Regions from separate parts of the Homo sapiens genome. Here region 1 is linked to region 2. The links are contacts of gene promoters, found by promoter capture Hi-C in human tissues and cell types (Jung and others, 2019). All regions are on one chromosome and are shown on one strand. The core of a region is centred on a gene start or on the middle of the fragment in contact, and the rest is flanking DNA. Distances in the headings are between cores, read along the strand shown.

Region 1 (4,452 bases), core at 675-3,174, 140 kb before region 2:
TCTAAAAAAAAAAAAAAAAAAAGATTGTAACTTGGCTACTTGGCTGAGCATGGTGGCTCATGCCTGTAACCCAGCACTTTGGGAGGCTGAGGCAGGTGGATTACCTGAGCTCAGGGGTTCGAGACCAGTCCGGGCAACATGACAAAACCCCTGTCTCTACTGAAAATACAAAAAAATTAGCCGGGTGTGGTGGTGCACACCTGTAATCTCAGCTACTAGGGAGGCTGAGCCAGGAGAATCGCTTGAACCTGAGAGAGGCAGAGGTTGTAGTGAGCCGAGATCATGCCACTGCACTCCAACCTGGGCAACAGAGTGAGACTTAGTCTCAAAAAAAAAAAAAAATCTTAAGTGGCATTTACAGTGTTTGTGATTCTAGATCAGGCTACGTTTCATTCCATAAAATAAATAGAATGAGTGTTCAGATGAGTCAAGCACAGGTTAGTTTTTATGGACAAAAAAGGGTAGAGAAAAATAGAAACAGAAGGAAAAAAAGCAGATGGGTCCTTTCAAAGTTACTTTTCTTGTAAAAGGACTTCCGTATCATGCCGGCTCACACTGGCTTGTTTGGGGTTTTGGCTCTTCCTTCCCTCTCCTGATTCCTCTGAAGGTTTGATAAACAACTTAGTGTTGCTTAGTGACATAGAACTTTAGCGTGAGTGACTCCATTTTGGTTTGGTCTGTTGAGCCAAGCACAGGAGCTCAGTGCAAATCAATGGCCTCCTATAAAATTTATTTAACTGAACCCTTGTGCATTGCTGGTGGGAATTTAAAATGGTGCAGCTACCATGGAAAATCGTATGGCGATTCCTCAGAACATTAAACACAATTACCATATGATCCAGCAATTCTACCTCTGGGTGTATATCCAAAATAATTGAAAGCAGGGACTCGAACAGATATTTGTACACTCACATTCAAAGCAGCAACATTCACAATAGCCAAAAGGTGGAAGCAACCCAAATGTCCATGGAGGGATGAATGGTTATGCAAAATGTGGTACATCTATACAATGGAATATTATTCAGTTGTAAAAAGGAAGGAAATTCTGACACATGCTACGAAATGGAAGGATCTTGAAGATATTATGTTAAGTGAAAGAAGCCAGACCCAAAAAGACAAATACTGTATAATTCCACTCATATCAGGTGCCTAGAGTAGTCAAGGGGAAGTTACTGTTTAATCGCGATAGAGTTTCAGTTTGGGAAGATAAGAAAGTTCTAGAAAAGAATGGTGGTGGTGGTTACAGAACAATGTGAGTGTACTTGGTGCCACAGAACTGTATGCAGTACTTACAAATGGTTACAATGGTAAATTTAGGCCAGGAGTGGTGGCTCATGCCTGTAATCCCAGCATTTTGGGAGGCCAAGGCAGGAGGATTGATTGAGGCCAGTAGTTTAAGACCATCTTGGGCAACACGGTGAGATCCCCATCTCTATAAAAATACATTTTAAAAATTTAAAAATTAGCTGGGCGTGGTAGCACACGCCTGTAGTCCCAGCTACTCGGGAGACTGAAGTGGGAGGATCACTTAAGCCAGAAGTTCAAGGCTACAGTGAGCTATGATCGCGCCACTGCACTCCAGCCTGGGCGACAGAGCGAGACCCTTCTAAAAAATAAAAAGGTAACATACATGTGTATGTATTGTAACACCATTAAAAAACAGAAATTTAAACGAAGAAAAGTTGGCTTCTAGCCCTTTGATCTAGCAAAGCTGACAGTGTCCTCACCTACCAATATAGGTAGATGACTCCTTACACGTGGACAAGCACATCCACCTGGCCGCTTCTCCCCTTTCCTCCCCTCCCCCGTTCCTCTCCTCCCCAACACATCCAGGTTCCGACCCTGCCACCCCCAACGAGTCTCACTGCGCAGGCGCGGAGCGGTGGGCAGGAGCGGGCGTGGCCTGACTCTGCGCCTGTGCGGAATTCCAGCTGCGACTGCTGAGGGAGAAAATGATGCCCAGGTTGGGCTCCCCGGCCCACCGGCCGAGGAGAGGCCTGCGCTGCACACGCGCAGACCGAGCATCCGCGTCAAGAGGCGAAGAGAGCGCGCGCTCCCCACGTCCTGCGCTCCTGGCTGCCGGGCATTCGTCTCAGCCGTGACTCTCGCCAGGCCGGGGCTGGCGCGCCCACGTCTGAAGAGCGATGCCCCGGGAGATCATCACCCTGCAGCTGGGCCAGTGCGGCAACCAGAGTGAGCAAGCGAGCGCCGGCCCCGCCGGTCTCTGGTTCTGCCCCTTCGGGTCCCACCCAAGTGCCTGGCTTCCACCAGTCCCCCTTTCCCTTCCATGAACCCCCTGCCCTGCTGCTCTGGATAACCCAGACCGAGAGCTGCGCCTCCAGCCCGGGGCTGGGGCAGCTACCAAACCCAGGCATCTTGGGTCCACCCTCTGATCGTGTCAGCCTCTGAGACTAAAACTGGGCTCCTCAGGCCTTAAGGCTCCAGCAGACCCGGGCATCTCCCCCCTCCCCCAGTTGGGTTCGAGTTCTGGAAACAGCTGTGCGCCGAGCATGGTATCAGCCCCGAGGGCATCGTGGAGGAATTCGCCACCGAGGGCACTGACCGCAAGGACGTCTTTTTCTACCAGGTGCCCCCAGCGACTTGGCCGGGGGCGGCAGTGGCCCAAGGGGGCGGAAGGGAAGGGAGTGGCCTGGTACTGGGAACCCCGCTGGGCAGTAGGGCCAGGCGGCTGGCTTGAGGAGGGAGGGCCGGAGGGAGCCAGAGTTGGGAGGACTTCGGACTTGGGCCGCCCTAGCTGATTGGGCCCCCTCCTGGACTCCCCTTGACAGGCAGACGATGAGCACTACATCCCCCGGGCCGTGCTGCTGGACTTGGAACCCCGGGTGATCCACTCCATCCTCAACTCCCCCTATGCCAAGCTCTACAACCCAGAGAACATCTACCTGTCGGAACATGGAGGAGGAGCTGGCAACAACTGGGCCAGCGGATTCTCCCAGGTGTCCTAGCGACCATTCCAGAGACCTTTGATATTCCCATCCAGAGGCAAGGCAGGCTCAAGCTACTAGGAATTTGACCTGACTGACAGAAAATAAGAGACAAAAGGATGTCCCGAACAAGAGGGACAGCCAGGGAGAGGTTTATGCAAATTTTGTGCAAATCATTTGCAATAGTAGCACTTCTGGGTTGAGGGCTACAGCCTAGGCTCTGCTTCAGGGTGGCAACAATATTCCAGGGTAGACAGAATTCTTGGTGCTGTGCTGAGAAAAGATGCTCTCTGGAACCTTTGGCCTGACCCTCCCTTTCCATATCTCTATACAGGGTGAGAAAATTCATGAAGACATCTTTGACATCATAGACCGAGAAGCAGATGGAAGTGACAGTTTGGAGGTGAAGTTATGGAGTGGGGGAAGGAATGGGCAGGGAGGCCGAAGAGTGCTGGGGACAGGTCAGGAGGTGGCCTGGATAGGTAATATGAGGGGAGCAATTCAATTCAAAACCCGTTTATGGAGCATCAGATGTGGGATATTGAGGTGAATAAGATATAATCTTTGTTCTCAAGGAAGTCATAAATCTGAATGGCACCGGCCCCTTAGGCATGAGTCATTCAGCTGCTTCTCCAGCTCCAAACCTTCCCAAGGAGCCTCAGCCTGGATGCATAAGAGGAAGCTTTGAGACATTGGCGTTTTGGGAATGGAGAATGAACCAAGCCGAAGTCTCTCCCCCAGATCCTTGGAGACTGCCTCTCCATCTCTCCCCATGCTGGGTGCGATATGTTCCTGGCTTACAGCTCTTATAACCCATGTAATTTCCTAAGGGACTAGAGCAATAATAGTATGTTTTGTTAAAATATTTGACCTTTTGTCCTTGGTTTCTGAAACAGCTCCAGAACAGCTCCAGAGTGATAAAGGTGAAAGACAGTCTTTTGTTATTTATAACAAGCCCGTTTCTTTTAGTTTAATCTTTCATTTTATTTTAATTAGTTAATTTTACTAACCACTGTACTAAGGAGGAACAAGTGCCTTTCAACCAAACCTGAGCTTATGTTAAAGAGGCGATTTTTGGAAAGTCCCAGATAGCCACTGGATGGGGGGCTGGTTGCCAGGGGAACAAACCTGGTGCTCTGAGGGTTGGAATTTACAGGCCCACCCCTCACCTCTGGGGAAGGGAGAGGGGATGAAGATTGAGTAGAGCACCAATTGCCAATGATTTAATCGGTCATGCCTGTGTAATGAAGCCTCCATAAAAATCCAAAAGGACTGAGTTTGGGGGCTTCCAGGAAGGTGAACAAGAACACATCCACAGGCCAGGAGGGTGCAAACCCAACGCCACAGGGCAGCAACTCCTATGCGCCGGACCCTTCTAGAGCTTCCCCTCGGTATCTCTTCATCTGGCTGTTTATTTGTATCCTTTAAAATATCCTTTATAACAAATGGATGAACGTAAGTAAGTGTCTCCTTGAGTTCTGTGAGCTACTCTAACAAATTAATTGAA
Region 2 (4,214 bases), core at 1,681-4,180:
GACAGTGCTGGAGGCGGGCCAGAGACCAGGGAAGCTCTGGCTGAGAGCGACCGTGCAGCTGAGGGTCTGGGGGCTGGAGTTGAGGAGGAAGGAGATGATGGGAAGGAACCCCAAGTTGGGGGCAGCCCCCAACCCCTGAGCCATCCCAGCCCAGTGTGGATGAACTACTCCTACAGCAGCCTGTGTTTGAGCAGCGAGGAGTCAGAAAGCAGTGGGGAAGATGAGGAGTTCTGGGCTGAGCTGCAGAGTCTTCGGCAGAAGTGAGTCTCGGGAGGATGGAGGAGTGAGAGGAGAACCTGGGAGAGCAAGGTGTGTGGCTAGCCCTTTCATGCCCTCCGTGCATCCTCAGGCACTTGTCAGAGGTGGAAACACTACAGACACTACAGAAAAAAGAAATTGAAGATTTGTACAGCCGGCTGGGGAAGCAGCCCCCACCGGGTATTGTGGCCCCAGCTGCTATGCTGTCCAGCCGCCAGCGCCGCCTCTCCAAGGGCAGCTTCCCCACCTCCCGCCGCAACAGCCTACAGCGCTCTGAGCCCCCAGGCCCTGGTGAGACTGCAGTCACCCAGCTTCCATCTTTTCCCTGAGACCCCTTTCTGTCGACTGTTTTTCTCCAGGCCCTGGGGGTCTGCCCCGGGGGAATAGACCCCCTCTCCCCACCTCCCCTTTCCTCACTTAGTGCTCTCCTTCCCCCATCCTGCTCCCAGGCATCATGCGAAGGAACTCTCTGAGTGGCAGCAGCACCGGCTCCCAGGAGCAGCGGGCAAGCAAGGGGGTGACATTCGCCGGGGATGTTGGCAGGATGGTGAGGGCGGGCCCAAGGGAGGGAGAGCCCAGGGAATGGTACCTGGCTGCAGCTTCGCCTTCCTCCCACCTTGGAGGTTTCTTCATCACTTTTTCTTTTCCCTCCAGTGAATTCAGAACAGAAGCCATGTATCTCCCCCACACCAGGGCCCACCATGGAGCTTGTGTTCTCAGAATCTGATGCTTTCTGATCAACAAAACTGAGCAAGGAAGATCCCAACACTGAAGGGGTAGAAGGCCAGGGGGGCATGGAGAGTGCAGCTCCATTATAGTGAAGAGCCAAACATATGTGAACTGTTTGCTGTGTGGAGGTGTTAGTTCTGCTGCCTACCATCTTCATCTCTAGCACCTCCCCTGCCAAGAGTCAACCACTAAGCAATCCCACCCAAGCCTGGATGCTTCTAGAGGGGCCCACTCCCAGCTGGGAGAGTGTAGGGGATATGCTCACACCACATTAGCAGCAACCAATAAAAATGCTGGAAACAAGAACGCCGTGAATCCATATGCCATGCCTTAGGAATTGGGGGAGCAAAGACTTGTGGGGTGAGGCAGGGGAGGATTTAAAAGGGACTTTCTTTTCACAATGGGAGGCAGGGGTGGAAGCTGCCCAGCCCTCTGGCTTCCTGCCATCAGTTAATGAGGAAACTGCAAGGTCAGTGATCCACTTGACTAAGTTAGGATCCCCTCCAGACCCCACCCTAGACCTGTATAGGCAGGTACCAGGGAAAGTTAAAAGAATGAAGACTGCTTGTCTTTCACCCTTCATCCACCTCTCTCTCCCTCCCTCTCTCTGGGGATGGGAAAAGCAGTAGAGTTACAGTATGTTCTTGTGGGTAGAGGACAGAAGAGTGACCTTCCTTCCCCTAAGACGTGGGTTCAGTCTCAAACTGCCCAGTGATCTCTCCCTTAAATCAGGTGGAAAGATCTCATGGAAAAAGTAATTCTAGTTAAACATTTACAGCTCCCTGGGGCAATGCCACCACTGCAGCTACTGCTTGTGAAGCTTTCCAGCATGAAGTGCCATATGCTGCCTCTCAGCCTCCATACTCACTTGACTCCAGGAGAATGACTCAGTTTATTATTCTCAATTTGACCCTATGTATCCCACTGTAGGCTCAAACACTGCACAGAGCTGCCACGTCTAACCTCGTAACAACTGCGTCCCTGGAAGGTGAAGGGGGTAAACCACAAAGTCAGAAACTTTGGGAAAAGCCACGGTCGCATGCACACCTCTCAAACAAGGAAACAAACTACAAGAAAGGGCTCAGTCATTGTACACAGCAAGTGTGCAGTGGGCAAAGTTCTGTTCTTTTGACATTGGCCAAATGCGTAAGTCCCTGGTTTCTTGGGCTCAATCACGGTCCAAGGTTAGTAAGAAGGCCAACAATGTTGTGAGCAGGATTCAATTTCTACAGGGTCATGGGGCATCATCCACCATGTGAAGGGGCTCCAGCAGGTTGGACATGATCAATACCCATCCAGATTAGGACCCTGACGCCCTTGCCAGAGCTCGGGCTCGGGCAGCTTTGGCCTCGTCTTCTAGCTCATCTAGGAAACGCTCCTGGGAAATCGAGTAGAAGGTGTAACCATCTGGGGAGGTAGGTTCAGGAAACCACACAGAATATGCACATTCCCCTTTCCTAGATTTGCTCTACCACTCTTGTTACTCTCCCAAATCAGTGATTCCGGCTTCCCGCCGCTGCTGTTTCTAAACCCTGAACCCCAATTCCGTTATTATTAATAAATCAAATTAAAAGAGTACCTTAGGAATAACAAAGGAAAGTACTACCCATTTTACCCCAAAATTAAACGGGTGGTTCAGCCCTCTTGCACACTCTGTTCCCCTGCCCCTATATGCGGTCCCCTTGAGTCTACAACACGGACGGATACAAATAGCCAACACCAGGGCCCCGATGCCTAGGCCGGTCACGATGTTCCGGGTTCGCCGCCGTGGTAGGACCTTCTGCCACTGGGCAAGCTCCGCCTGCCGCATGGAATGCAGTTGCTCGGGTGTCAGCTTCTCCCGAGTCGGGTCGATACGCTGAGCGAACGGGGCCTCTCCACGCTTAGAATCCAGAGGGTCACCAGCTCCCGAAGACGCCATGTTGCCACTCCTCCCTTCGCGGTGCCGCCGCGCGGGCCTCGCTGGGAACAGTAGCCCTTGGCCGCTGCAGTGGACTCTGGGAGTTGTAGTCCGCGTGCCCTTTGCGGGGCAGAGCCGCGGTTCCCGGGCACAGGGGATGGACGCGGGAGGTGAGAAGCGGACGTGCTTTCTGATTGGCTGAGGAGTCCGTGGCCGTTGGGGCGGGAAAAAGCTGTGGAGGGTTCGAGGCTGTGGTGGTAATTGGGTTTTCCTCAGACTTGAGGCGACGACACACTCATTGGAAGGGGACGAGGAATCCAGGGTGTGGCAGAAGACTGGAGAGGAGCTAAGGGGGTCGGTATGTGGATCCAGTGAACCCGTCCAGGTGCCCCAAGAGGCTCGTGAATATGGACGGACCCATGAGGCCACGATCGGCCTCCCTCGTTGACTTTCAGTTTGGAGTTGTCGCCACAGAGACGATTGAAGACGCCCTGCTTCACTTGGCCCAGCAGAATGAGCAAGCAGTGAGGGAGGCTTCGGGGCGGCTGGGCCGCTTCAGGGAGCCCCAGATCGTGGGTGCGGCTGCAGGGCCGGGGTGCTGGGTTCTTGGGAGACTGGGGCTTGTGTCTTTCAGGCACCGACCTTGAGATTCCGTTGATTTTATTCATTCAGAGAATGTTTGCTAACACCTCTCTGTGGGGTGCTGGGGATATAGTGATGGATAAGTCACAACAGTGCCCTCCCCTTGATTTCTTCGACATGTATGGAATACTTGAGTGGCACCGCTTGGCTAGAAAGATGAAATAGAGGGCCAGGCATGGTGGCTTACACCTGTAATCCCAGCACTTTGGGAGGCTGAGGTGGGAGGTTCACCTGAGGTCAGGAGTTCGAGACCAGCCTGACCAACATGGTGAAATCCTGTCTCTACTAAAAGTACAAAAATTAGCCAGGACTGGTGGCGCGCACCTCTAATCCCAGCTACTCGGGAGGTTGAGACAGGAGAACTGTTTGAACCCAGGAGGCGGAAGTTGCAGTGAGCCGAAATCGTGCCATTGCACTTCAGCCTAGACGACAAGAATGAAACTCCGTCTCAAAAAAAAAAAAAAAAAAAAAAAAAAAAAAAGGCTGGGCGCGGTGGCTCACGCCTGTAATCCCAGCATTTTGGGAGGCTGAGGCGGGCAGATCACGAGGTCAGGAGATCGAGACCATCCTGGCTAACATGGTGAAACCCCGTCTCTACTAAAAATACAAAAAAAAGCCGGGTGTGGTGGCGGGCGCCTGTAGTCCCAGCTACTCCGGAGGCTGAGGGAGGAGAATGGCATGAACC

Evidence for each region. Contacts are between HindIII fragments. The study calls those that stand out against the background at their distance.
Region 1: the fragment with the promoter of TUBG2 here is called in contact with the fragment with the promoter of COA3 in region 2 in 3 of the 25 tissues and cell types used here (mesenchymal stem cells, neural progenitor cells and small bowel).

The regions. Positions count from the first base shown.
Region 1 is chr17:42,657,360-42,661,811 of GRCh38, forward strand. It overlaps TUBG2 (tubulin gamma 2), which reads left to right and starts at 1,925. Exons shown (of 11, transcript NM_016437.3): 1 at 1,925-2,193; 2 at 2,475-2,587; 3 at 2,790-2,957; 4 at 3,280-3,348. The coding sequence starts at 2,145. RefSeq lists enhancers at 1,757-2,524, 1,882-1,941, 1,952-2,021, 2,072-2,141. The HindIII fragment of the contact is 23,957 bases long and covers 1-4,074 here.
Region 2 is chr17:42,795,774-42,799,987 of GRCh38, forward strand. COA3 (cytochrome c oxidase assembly factor 3) reads right to left here and starts at 2,931. Exons shown (of 2, transcript NM_001040431.3): 1 at 2,695-2,931; 2 at 1,852-2,394. The coding sequence starts at 2,908. The coding sequence ends at 2,288. It overlaps CNTD1 (cyclin N-terminal domain containing 1), which reads left to right and starts at 3,088. Exons shown (of 7, transcript NM_173478.3): 1 at 3,088-3,463. The coding sequence starts at 3,295. WNK4 (WNK lysine deficient protein kinase 4) reads left to right here. Exons shown (of 19, transcript NM_032387.5): 16 at 1-260; 17 at 350-549; 18 at 708-805; 19 at 913-1,293. The coding sequence ends at 915. RefSeq lists enhancers at 2,614-2,683, 2,824-2,873, 2,894-2,943. The HindIII fragment of the contact is 12,523 bases long and covers 1-4,214 here.